2 separate regions of the Homo sapiens genome follow, and region 1 is linked to region 2. The links are contacts of gene promoters, found by promoter capture Hi-C in blood cells and fetal thymus (Javierre and others, 2016). All regions are on one chromosome and are shown on one strand. The core of a region is centred on a gene start or on the middle of the fragment in contact, and the rest is flanking DNA. Distances in the headings are between cores, read along the strand shown.

The links. Contacts are between HindIII fragments. The CHiCAGO score rates a contact against its expected background, and 5 or more counts as called.
Region 1: a contact is called between a fragment that was not itself captured here and the fragment with the promoter of GALNT4 in region 2, in 6 of 17 cell types (megakaryocytes, M0 macrophages, activated CD4 T cells and 3 more). The highest score is 7.1, in megakaryocytes.

The regions. Positions count from the first base shown.
Region 1 is chr12:88,101,392-88,106,792 of GRCh38, reverse strand. CEP290 (centrosomal protein 290) reads left to right here. Exons shown (of 54, transcript NM_025114.4): 25 at 1-118; 26 at 3,782-3,955. Among named protein-coding and RNA genes, the nearest start is that of CEP290, 38 kb to the left of the region's middle. The HindIII fragment of the contact is 719 bases long and covers 1,891-2,609 here.
Region 2 is chr12:89,523,546-89,529,723 of GRCh38, reverse strand. GALNT4 (polypeptide N-acetylgalactosaminyltransferase 4) reads left to right here and starts at 4,928. Exons shown (of 1, transcript NM_003774.5): 1 at 4,928-6,178. The coding sequence starts at 5,175. POC1B-DUSP6 (POC1B-DUSP6 readthrough) reads left to right here and starts at 3,677. Exons shown (of 11, transcript NR_189589.1): 1 at 3,677-3,843; 2 at 4,520-4,604. It overlaps POC1B (POC1 centriolar protein B), which reads left to right and starts at 3,677. Exons shown (of 12, transcript NM_172240.3): 1 at 3,677-3,843; 2 at 4,520-4,604. The coding sequence starts at 3,829. It overlaps POC1B-GALNT4 (POC1B-GALNT4 readthrough), which reads left to right and starts at 3,462. Exons shown (of 3, transcript NM_001199782.1): 1 at 3,462-3,843; 2 at 4,520-4,604; 3 at 6,051-6,178. The coding sequence starts at 3,569. It also overlaps POC1B-AS1. RefSeq lists silencers at 3,722-3,981, 4,532-4,911 and an enhancer at 5,002-5,211. The HindIII fragment of the contact is 3,011 bases long and covers 3,379-6,178 here.

The DNA.
Region 1 (5,401 bases), core at 1,001-3,500, 1.4 Mb after region 2:
TACAACCTTAGTAGAATTGGAGCGACAACTTAGAAAAGAAAATGAGAAGCAAAAGAATGAATTGTTGTCAATGGAGGCTGAAGTTTGTGAAAAAATTGGGTGTTTGCAAAGATTTAAGGTACATCTGATTCTTATTTTGCTTTTTCTGACTATGAAAAATTTCAAATATGCAGAAGATAGGATGGTATCAATAATGCTCATCACCTGAATTAATAGTTAACATTTATTAACATTTTGTCATAATTGCTTCTTCTGATTTTTGTGGGATGTTTGAATTGCAGACATTCCTCCCCTAAATATTTAATGTACCCTTTTGAAAAAGGCTTTTTTCTTTAACTAACCATAGTAACTTTATTATACCTAACAAAATGACAGTAATTTTCTAATATCGCCTAATACCCTGATTATAGTCACATTTTTTACATTTTTTGATCAAAGAATAAGCATTTGGATGTTACATCTCATAAATCTTTTTAATATAGAATCCCCTTGGTTTTCTTTTTCTCCAAAAAATGTTTGAAGATGTATCTAACTTTTGTGTGTGTGTCATTTTACTTGTTCCTGTGTCCCTTGTATTACTAAAAGTTAGGTCAGAACCCTAAGTTACATTCAGGTTTAAACATTTTTGGCAAGAATACTTCATAAGTAGTGTTCTATACTTTATATTGCATCACTTCAAGAGTATCTGGTTGTTCCATGTTTTGTAATTGATTACTCTGTTAAGGAAAAGACAAGCAGACCAAGTATGGTGGCTCATGCCTATAATTCCAACATTTTGGAAGGCCCAGGCAGGAAAATTTCCTGAGCCCAGACCAGCCTAGGCAATATAGTGAGACTCCGTCTCTACAAAAAATGTTTTTTTTTTTGTTTGTTTGTTTTTAATTAGCTTGGTGTAGTGGCACATGCTTGTAATCCCAGCTACCTGGGACATTGAGGTGGGAGGATCGCTTGAGCCCAGGAAGTTGGGGGCTGCAGTGAGCTGTGATCATGTGCCACTGATCTCCAGCCTATGTGCCTGTATAACAGAGCGAGTCTCTCTCTTAAAAGAAAAAAAGAAGAAGAAGAAGAAGAAAAGATAACCATATACCTCCATTATTAAGCAATTTAGCTAACTGGTGATATTTTGGTACCATACAAATAACAAATTATTTGTCAGTCCTAATGATTTTAGCATCTGCTGATGATTGTTGCCTAACCCAATTATTAAAAGTTGCAAACATCATAATTTTCTAGTTATATTATGCACTTACATTTATTAACAGACATGCTTTTGTAAAATAAATAGCGTTTCCTCATTAGCCCAGGCTATTTGTTTATCTTGAAGTTTAGCTCCTACTACAAAGGCAAGATAAATGCTTTTCTCTTTAATTACCAGTTTTCAGAATACACACTTGGTGTACTCTGCACTACCTGCTTTTTTTGTCCCCTCCGCTTTCTCTTTTTTAAGTATCAGATTAGACTCACAGATTTTTAAATATTCCATGTGTTTTAGTTGGAGTCATATTCTTTTGTCTCAACTTTAGCCAAAGAGAGTCCTTTAAAGTTGACTCTTATATTGTCTTGACAAAAATTCATTAGTCTTTTGAACGAAGCCTCAAAGCTTGACTTGTTTTCTAGCATAAGATGTCTTAGACTTACCTACATACTTCATGCCCATACTTGGAATAAACCATTTCTTTAAAGAGCCCAGGTTCCTTTTAGTGGGGAAGGCATTTAGATACCAAAAACTGGCCACTGGGCATCATTGCTCTCAGAGTATCATTGCCACTAGTCTCTCAGTAGACAAGTTAGAAAAATATGTATATATTTAAACCATGAGTTCATATTGTTATTTCCAGTTTAATTATAACATTATGGGGTAAGTAAATAGTATCGGATTTTTACTAAGCTTCTTTGATTTTGCACTTGTATTTTTTTCTTACATAGAAAACCTTTATTATTAACATTAAAATATTTGTTTTATCCTACAATATACATACAATAATTTGAAAAATAATACTTGAATTGATATTAATAGTAACAACAACAGCACTGCTGCCAAACATAGTTTAAAGTTTTATTTCAGGTCTTATTTTCTTCAGAATATATCTTGCTGAGAATGTATAGGCAAAGTATTCTACACTTACTTGAAATAATTGTCTTCATGCGGTTATGTTATACATTTGATATATAGTTAGGCTCATTTGTTTTTCATTTTTTTTATTTTAGGGATTTTTTTCCTTTATTGAATTTTAATATATACAATATTTATATATGCAAAATATTTAATCAGAGAAATCTTAATTCTGGTCTTACGCCTTTCATATTATTCTGCTCCACCCTCTGTAGGTAACTTATTATCTTTCTCATGTTTCCTTTTTGGAAACATAAACAAAGACAAGACAGGTTACATGACATGTATACCCTTCTGCACCTAGTTTTATACCTTACCTTGTAGTTTATTTTTAAGCATGTAAATGTTCAATGTTCATGACTAAATTTGGACAGGATCATAGGAACACAGAATTCAAAGTGAAATTAAAATGGGCTTGGGTTCTTTACTTTCCACTTTAAAGGTTGTAATGGGTGATGTCAGGCTAATAAACCTATTTTCAGCTTGATCTAAAGCTTAATACTGAGCATCAAGAAATTCTTTAATAAATATAAGTGATATTTATTCAGACATGTAATAAGGAAATGTTCATGTCTTATTTTTGTGTTAGATTTTTTTAGAATCTACTTTTGTTAGAGTTTTATAAATACAGTTAGTGTTTGAGATAGAAAGAGAAAAGAATTAGTTTTCTTCCTCTTCTACCTGCTCATGAACTTGATTTTTTTCTCCCAACAATTGAAGAGCCAAGAAAAAGGGAGATTCTTAAGAGATGGGAAATAGAATCTCATCTACCCCTGTTTCCCCCAGAACAGTGAAACTGAATCTTAAGGGTAAGATAGAATAGTGTGTACTTAACTTAGATGGAGAAGAAAGGCTGCCAAAATGAGATCTGAAGCGCTATTACAAATATTTCCATCGTTACTGTACTTCAGAATGAATTACAACCGTAAGTTTTTTTACTTCCTCATTCATAAATTTGATTATTCCTTATACCACTTCTCAGCTTTCATCATTCTTTATTGTACTTTTCTATGTAATGTTTGCCTATTATACAGCAACTTAAGAGAACTGTAAGTTTGGACATTTCATTTTGGTGTTGATAATAGAATATCTTTGAATAGTTCTATAGTTGATGAGTAGAACCATGAACCAAGTAACTTAAAGTCCTTGATGTTATTTATTACAGAGAACTATAATAGAAGCTCTCCCGCTAATGTTTCCATCATGTGTACAAAAAGTTTTCTTGTTATTAAAGCTAGTCCGTTTAACTTACAATAAGCATAAATAGCTAAGCTGTGAAAGTTACCTGTGATAATGCTAATTTTCCCATTTATTAAAAGGCAAGTTGTTTTCCGATCATAAGAAATTTAGAAAAGCCATCCAAAGATAAATTCCGAGTGATATATTCCTGCTGTTTGTTATGTTTTCTCAAATTAATTGAGTTTTATTTTACAATGACAGGAGTTATTAAAGTATTTTATTTTTATTATGATTAAGATTTTCAAAGTAACATTTCTTATATGAAAGAAATTATGTTAATGCATGTTTTTCTTACATGGGAAATCATATATTTTAAAAATGATTTTAAAATTCGTTTTACTTTAAGTTGTATTATCTTTCTCAAAAGTGGCTAGTGCTTGACCAGAAAAAAAGACACCAGCATAACTCAGTGTATCTTTATTTACATAGGAAATGGCCATTTTCAAGATTGCAGCTCTCCAAAAAGTTGTAGATAATAGTGTTTCTTTGTCTGAACTAGAACTGGCTAATAAACAGTACAATGAACTGACTGCTAAGTACAGGGACATCTTGCAAAAAGATAATATGCTTGTTCAAAGAACAAGTAACTTGGAACACCTGGAGGTAAGTTTGTGTGATTCTTGAACCTTGTGAAATTAGCCATTTTTCTTCAATATTTTTGTGTTTGGGGGGATTTGGCAGATTTTAATTAAAGTTTGCCTGCATTTATATAAATTTAACAGAGATATAATTATCCATATTATTCATTCAGTTTAGTTATAAATATTTTGTTCCCACATAACACACACACACACACACAATATATTATCTATTTATAGTGGCTGAATGACTTCTGAATGATTATCTAGATCATTCTCCTTAGGTCACTTGCATGATTTAGCTGAATCAAACCTCTTTTAACCAGACATCTAAGAGAAAAAGGAGCATGAAACAGGTAGAATATTGTAATCAAAGGAGGGAAGCACTCATTAAGTGCCCATCCCTTTCTCTTACCCCTGTACCCAGAACAAACTATTCTCCCATGGTCCCTGGCTTTTGTTCCTTGGAATGGATGTAGCCAACAGTAGCTGAAATATTAAGGGCTCTTCCTGGACCATGGATGCACTCTGTAAATTCTCATCATTTTTTATTGTAGAATAAATGTAGAATTTTAATGTAGAATAAATTTATTTAATGTAGAATAAAAAATAAAAAAACTAGAGTAGAATATCATAAGTTACAATCTGTGAATATGGACCAGACCCTTTGTAGTTATCTTACAGCCACTTGAACTCTATACCTTTTACTGAGGACAGAACAAGCTCCTGATTTGTTCATCTTCCTCATCAGAAATAGAGGCTTATGGATTTTGGATTATTCTTATCTAAGATCCTTTCACAGGAGTAGAATAAGATCTAATTCTATTAGCTCAAAAGCTTTTGCTGGCTCATAGAGACACATTCAGTAAATGAAAACGTTGTTCTGAGTAGCTTTCAGGATTCCTACTAAATTATGAGTCATGTTTATCAATATTATTTAGAAGTAATCATAATCAGTTTGCTTTCTGCTGCTTTTGCCAAAGAGAGGTGATTATGTTACTTTTTATAGAAAATTATGCCTATTTAGTGTGGTGATAATTTATTTTTTTCCATTCTCCATGTCCTCTGTCCTATCCTCTCCAGCATTAGAAAGTCCTAGGCAAGAGACATCTTGTGGATAATGTATCAATGAGTGATGTTTAACGTTATCATTTTCCCAAAGAGTATTTTTCATCTTTCCTAAAGATTTTTTTTTTTTTTTTTTGAGATGGAGTTTCATTCTGTCACCCAGGCTGAGTGCAGTGGCACGATCTCGGCTTAACGCTTACTGCATCCTCTGCCTCCCAGATTCAAGCAGTTCTCCTGCCTCAGCCTCTGAGTAGCTGGGATTACAGGTGTGCACCACCACACCAGCTAATTTTTTTTTTTTTTTTTTTTTTTTTGAGGCAGAGTCTCGCTCTGTCACCCAGGCTGGAGTGCAGTGGCGCCATCTTGGCTCACTGCAAGCTCCACCTCCCGGGTTCAGGCCGTT
Region 2 (6,178 bases), core at 3,679-6,178:
GCTTGTGGCTCCCACCCACATAAATGATTAGGTTGCAGTCCAGAGAGGTCTAAATAATCATTGTAGCAAGTGGAATTAGGCTTGAGGTTAGAAAAAACTTCCCCAACTTTGACCACATTTCCAATTGTCTACCTCTGAGCTTTTGCTATTTGCAAAGGTGAAGAAAAGCCGAAAAGAACAAAATCAAATACTATGGAAAAGAACAATGGGAAGGGCAGTTTAGAGTAATAAATGAGGACAGTGGAATGAAAATAAAGGAGATATTACTTTCATTTTGTAAAACTTATTATTATAAACCTTGGCAAGAATGCAATGTTTTATACATTTACATAACACTTGCAATCACACAAAAGTCATGACAGTGATTAAGAGAGTGGATTCTGGGCCAGGTGAGGTGGCTCACACCTGTAATCCCAGCACTTTGGGAGGCCGAGACAGGCGGATCACGAGGTTAGGATATTGAGACCATCCTGGCTAACACGGTGAAAACCAGTCTCTATTAAAAAAAAAATACAAAAAAAATTAGCCGGGCTTGGTGGCGGGCGCCTGTAGTCCCAGCTGCTCGGGAGGCTGAGGCAGGGGAATGGCGTGAACCTGGGAGGCGGAGCAGCTTGCAGTGAGCCGAGATCGCGCCACTGCATTCCAGTCTGGGCGACAGAGTGAGACTCCGTCTCAAAAAAAAAAAAAAAAAAGAGAGAGTGGATTCTGGAGGCAGACTGCGAGTGTCTAAAAATCTCAACTCTGCCACTTCCTAGTTAGCAGTGTGCCTTGGGCAAGTAACTTAATGTCTTTGCATATCAATTTACTCATCTATAAAACGGAAATGGTAATAATAGCACATCTCTAATAAGATCGTTATGATCACTAAATGTCAAAATTTGTAAGGTACTTAGAAAAGTCCTGGCATGTAGTGAAAACATAGGTAGGTATATTAGTCCGTTCTCACATTGCTATGAAGAACTACCTGCGACTGGGTAATTTACAAAAAAAGCGGGTTTAATTGGCTCATGGTTCTGCAGGCTGTACAGGAAGTATGGCTGGGGAGGCCACAGGAAACTTACAAACATGGTGGAAGGCAAAGGGGAAGAGAGCATGGCTGCTCCATGGCTGGAGCAGGAGGAAGAGAGCAAAGGGGGAAGTGCTACACACTTTTAAACAACCAGATCTCGTGATAACTCACTCAGAACAGCAAGGGAGAAATCCACCCCCATGATCCAATCACCTCCCACCAGCCCCCTCCTCCAACACTGGGGATTACAATTCTACATGACAGTTGGGTGGGGACACAAATCCAAACCATATCAGTAGGTGACAAATTTTTTAAGATCAACTTTAGGTAATAGGATTAATATGTAGTTTCCCTCCCATCTTTTAAATTTAAAACATGTGTTTCTTGATAATTGAGAAAAAAAGTAAAAGCTAAACTTTTACTAAAACACTTAAATAAAAATCTATATTTTTTCTTCTTGTGAGCTAGTTTCTAAATCTCCAACTTCTTCCCTTTTCTGCTTCTCCTGTGCCCAATATTAGACGTAACATACCTATGAGTAATCCTGAGGTCCTGATTACTCTTCAGCTTCTGGCATTATTATTTTATTATTGGGGTGAAATACCTGTAATGAAATTTACCATTTTACCCATTTTTTAGGTGTACAATTCACTGGCATTAAGTACATTCACAATGTTGTGCAAACATCACCACTATCTATTTCCAGAACTTCATCATCCCAAACAGAAACTCTGCACCCATTAAACAGTAACTCCCCAGTCTCCCTTACCCCCAGCCCTAGTAACCTCTATTCTACTTTCTGTCCTTATGAATTCACCTATTCTAGGTACCTCATATGAATGGAATCATACAATATATGCTCATTTGTGTTTGGCTTATTCACTTAGCAAAATGTTTTCAAGGTTCATCCATGTTATAGCTTGTATCACAATTTCATTTCTTTTTATGGCAGGATAATATTTCCTTATATGTATATATCACATACATTTTGTTTATCCATTCATCTGTTGGATACTAGGATTGTATCCACTTTTTGGCTATTGTAAATAATGCTTGCTTTGAACACTGGCATCTGTTGGAGTCTCTGCTTTCAATACTTATGGGATATACCTAGCAGTGAAATTGCTGGATTATAAGGTAATTGTATGTTTAACTTTTTAGGAACTGACAAACTTTTTCACAGAGCTACATCATTTTACATTCCCACCAGTATCCAGCATTAGTTTTAAACATGGCAGGCTTTTAAAATAAATCAAGCCTAAACTGGTAATATGTAGCAAAACTAAGAGTCCTGCAACAGTTTGCTGACAAGTTGCTGATATCAACACTCTTAACATATCATCTCCTAGACTAATGCAGTGTTTCTCAACATAGACAGCTGAGACTCCCATAGTAATCATCTATGGAGCTTGTTACATCAGAAGGGCCCTGGATCCCACCTTGTATATGTTGATTCAGCATCTCTGGAAATGGAGCCCCCAAATCAACATTACAAATGCTAAAGCATGAGACTCACCAACCCTAGATTGCTGAGTTCTTGAAGGTAGGGGAAATATCTTAGTCATCATTGTGTCCCTCAAGGCCAAACATACAACAGATATTTAACAAGTGTATACTTAAATTAACTAATACTGTAATCTAAAGCCTACCTGTTTAGTTGTTAAGTACCATATTCAATAAAATTAAACTCAATCACTAGACAACTAGGGAATCTGTAATTAAGGTGTGTAGCATACCTTTCATTTGCATAAAACACATGTCTTACCAGCTGTGTTCTATCATGCCCTTTGATGTTGCTAAGGATCTTTACACTATATGTAATTTTCAGCTCAGAACATCACGCTTTGAGGCAGGGTTAAAAAAAAAAAAAGGATATGGACTTGGAATTAGAAGAACTGTCTCTGTGTGACCTCTAAGACCAATATCTAGGAATCAAGTTTATAACTTGGAAACATTGAAAACATTTTGTAATTCTACCAACTTCATTGTTTGGCTGAAGCACAAATGATACTATGTGTAACAAAGCCTGCTGTAGAAACGTGGTCTCACAAAAAACAAACAAAAAAAACCATGTTTCCAAGTCTTCCTAAAGACTTTAAGTATCCAGCTGTGTAAGTTTAGTGCTCTAAGGTATACGCAAATAAGCAGATGAGAATGGAAACATATCGCAGAAAATTATTAAGTGCATGCACAACATTTATTCATTCATTCACTCATTCATTCATCACGCACATCCAGCAACTATATCAATATCCTGCAGGGCACTGTGTGGAAAACAGTGGTTAAATAAATTCAAATCTGCCCTCAGGGGATTTAGTTCCTTTTAGTATATTAATAACTAGCAAGCTGCCCCTCTTCATGTCAAAGCTTTACGTCAACAAAATAAGCGGTAGGGGATCACCTTAAACGTCACGGGTGCTGTCTCTTTAAAACGTAATAGAACTCTGATCGCATCGATCACAGGCTCACAACGCCCTTCCATTCATCGCTCTTATTCCAGTCCTGGTTACTACCCCACTTCCTGACATCAAACCAGGGAGAACGCGAGTGTTAGTTAACATGGCTTGGTGTGTGGCCACAGCTGACCCGGCGCATACCTCCCGTCCTCTCTTTACAGGGCTGGCGGTGTCTCGGGGCTCGGCTGGCCATGCCTGGAGCGCGGGGTTTGACTGGGCCGCCGTTGTTGTAGTGACCGGGAGGCGCTGCCGCTCTGGGCAGACGGTTCCGGGAGCCGCACGGTCCCCTCTCCTTCCCCATCCTCTCCCCTCCCCTCTCCGGGTTCCCCCACCCACAGGAGCCTTGGGCCGACCACTCCCCCGATGGCCTCAGCCACGGTAAGGACGGGTTGGAGGTGGGGGGGGTCCCTCCCTGGAGCCTGTCCCGCGGGCTGCGGGGCCAGGTCCGGGCCGAAGCCGCACCTGGAGGGAGATGGAGGCAGGTGTCCGTAGCCGGGTCCTGAGCCCCTCGTCCCGGGGCGTCCGTATCTCACTCTCTGCCATCGGGGCGGACGGAGTGCGGAACCCAGACCCGGCTCCCGGACGCTCTTCCCCGAGTTCCGGAGCTCCGGACTGAGCTGGGCGGCCCCACGGCCCCCAGAATTCTCGGAGGGTTTCCGTGGAGCGCCTGCGTCAGAATCACCTAGGAAGTATTAAAAAAAAAAAAAGTACCAAAGCCGAGGCGCATCCTCGCACCTGCCTGCCTTGGGCCAGCGGGCGGGGCCCGGGAACGTGCATTTCAAAGGGGCCGCGGTTCCTGCGATGCGCTGGACTCTGGGAAGCGCGAACAGAGCGTTTTGCGGGCTCTGCGGGGAGAGCTGGCGCCGGCGTCTCCCTGTAGCAGGACTGGGCGCCGCGCCCGTGGGTGGGCTGCTGCCCGGCCCCGCCGCCCAGCCAAGCCGCCGCCTGGGTGGCCATTCCCAAGCCGGACTCCGGGGAAGTGGCAGCGTGGATCCCAGCCGCCAGAATTCGAGGTCTGCGGCGGCTTTCAAAACTTGACAACTTTCCTTTCCAGGAGGACCCCGTTCTGGAGCGTTATTTCAAAGGCCACAAAGCTGCGATCACCTCCTTGGACCTCAGCCCCAACGGCAAGCAACTTGGTAAGTCTTATTCTTGTTTTGCTTTTGTAATGAGACTAAACTCCATGGGCCGGAAACCTTTCCTCCTGTCCGGGCAGGGTCCCTAGGAGAACGGCTAAGGGCCTGTATGAGGGTTGAGAGCACCCGGAGACGAGGGCCCAGCGCGGCGGGGCGCAGCTAGGGCCCCCTCTGCCATCCCGGCCCCCAGCCCCCGGCCCGGCCAAGAGCCTCCTATCCAGCGGTCTGGGCCTGGCGGACGACTTTCGCAAACTAACCACCAGGAGGAGTGAGTGGGAAGGGGAGGGGTTTCTCCTCGGCCCGGGGAGGGTGGGGTGTTGGCTGGAGAGTTTGTGAAAAGTTGTGAGCCGAGCAGGAGGAAGTAGGGAGAGAGGAGTTGGGCTGTGCCGGAGGCCGAGGACCGAGAGGGCTCAGGTGACCCCTGGAAAGCCTGGGTGGCTGGAAAGGAGCCTAGCGCCTGCATGAAAGGAAGAACCTGCTGGGAAGTACCTGAGCTCGAGCTGTGGGTTCCGCCGCCCTTCCCCTGCGTGGTGGCTTGGTGGCCGCGTCTGCGCCTCAGCCCTGAGAATCCGGATGGCGGTGAGGTGGACTTGGGCAGGCAAGAGCTGCCTGCTGCTGGCGTTTTTAACAGTGGCCTATATCTTCGTGGAGCTCTTGGTCTCTACTTTTCATGCCTCCGCAGGAGCCGGCCGTGCCAGGGAGCTGGGGTCAAGAAGGCTCTCAGACCTCCAGAAAAATACGGAGGATTTGTCTCGACCGCTTTATAAGAAGCCCCCTGCAGATTCCCGTGCACTTGGGGAGTGGGGGAAAGCCAGCAAACTCCAGCTCAACGAGGATGAACTGAAGCAGCAAGAAGAACTCATTGAGAGATACGCCATCAATATTTACCTCAGTGACAGGATTTCCCTGCATCGACACATAGAGGATAAAAGAATGTATGAGTGTAAGTCCCAGAAGTTCAACTATAGGACACTTCCTACCACCTCTGTTATCATTGCTTTCTATAACGAAGCCTGGTCGACTTTGCTCCGTACCATTCACAGTGTTTTAGAAACTTCTCCTGCAGTTCTTTTGAAAGAGATCATCTTGGTGGATGACTTGAGTGACAGAGTTTATTTGAAGACACAACTTGAAACTTACATCAGCAATCTTGATAGAGTACGCTTGATTAGGACCAATAAGCGAGAGGGGCTGGTTAGGGCCCGTCTGATTGGGGCCACTTTCGCCACTGGGGACGTCCTCACTTTCCTGGATTGTCACTGTGAGTGTAATTCCGGTTGGCTGGAACCGCTTTTGGAAAGGATTGGGAGAGATGAAACAGCAGTTGTGTGTCCTGTTATAGACACAATTGATTGGAATACTTTTGAATTCTATATGCAGATAGGGGAGCCCATGATTGGTGGGTTTGACTGGCGTTTAACATTTCAGTGGCATTCTGTCCCCAAACAGGAAAGGGACAGGCGGATATCAAGAATTGACCCCATCAGATCACCTACCATGGCTGGAGGACTGTTTGCTGTCAGCAAGAAATATTTTCAGTACCTTGGAACGTATGACACAGGAATGGAAGTGTGGGG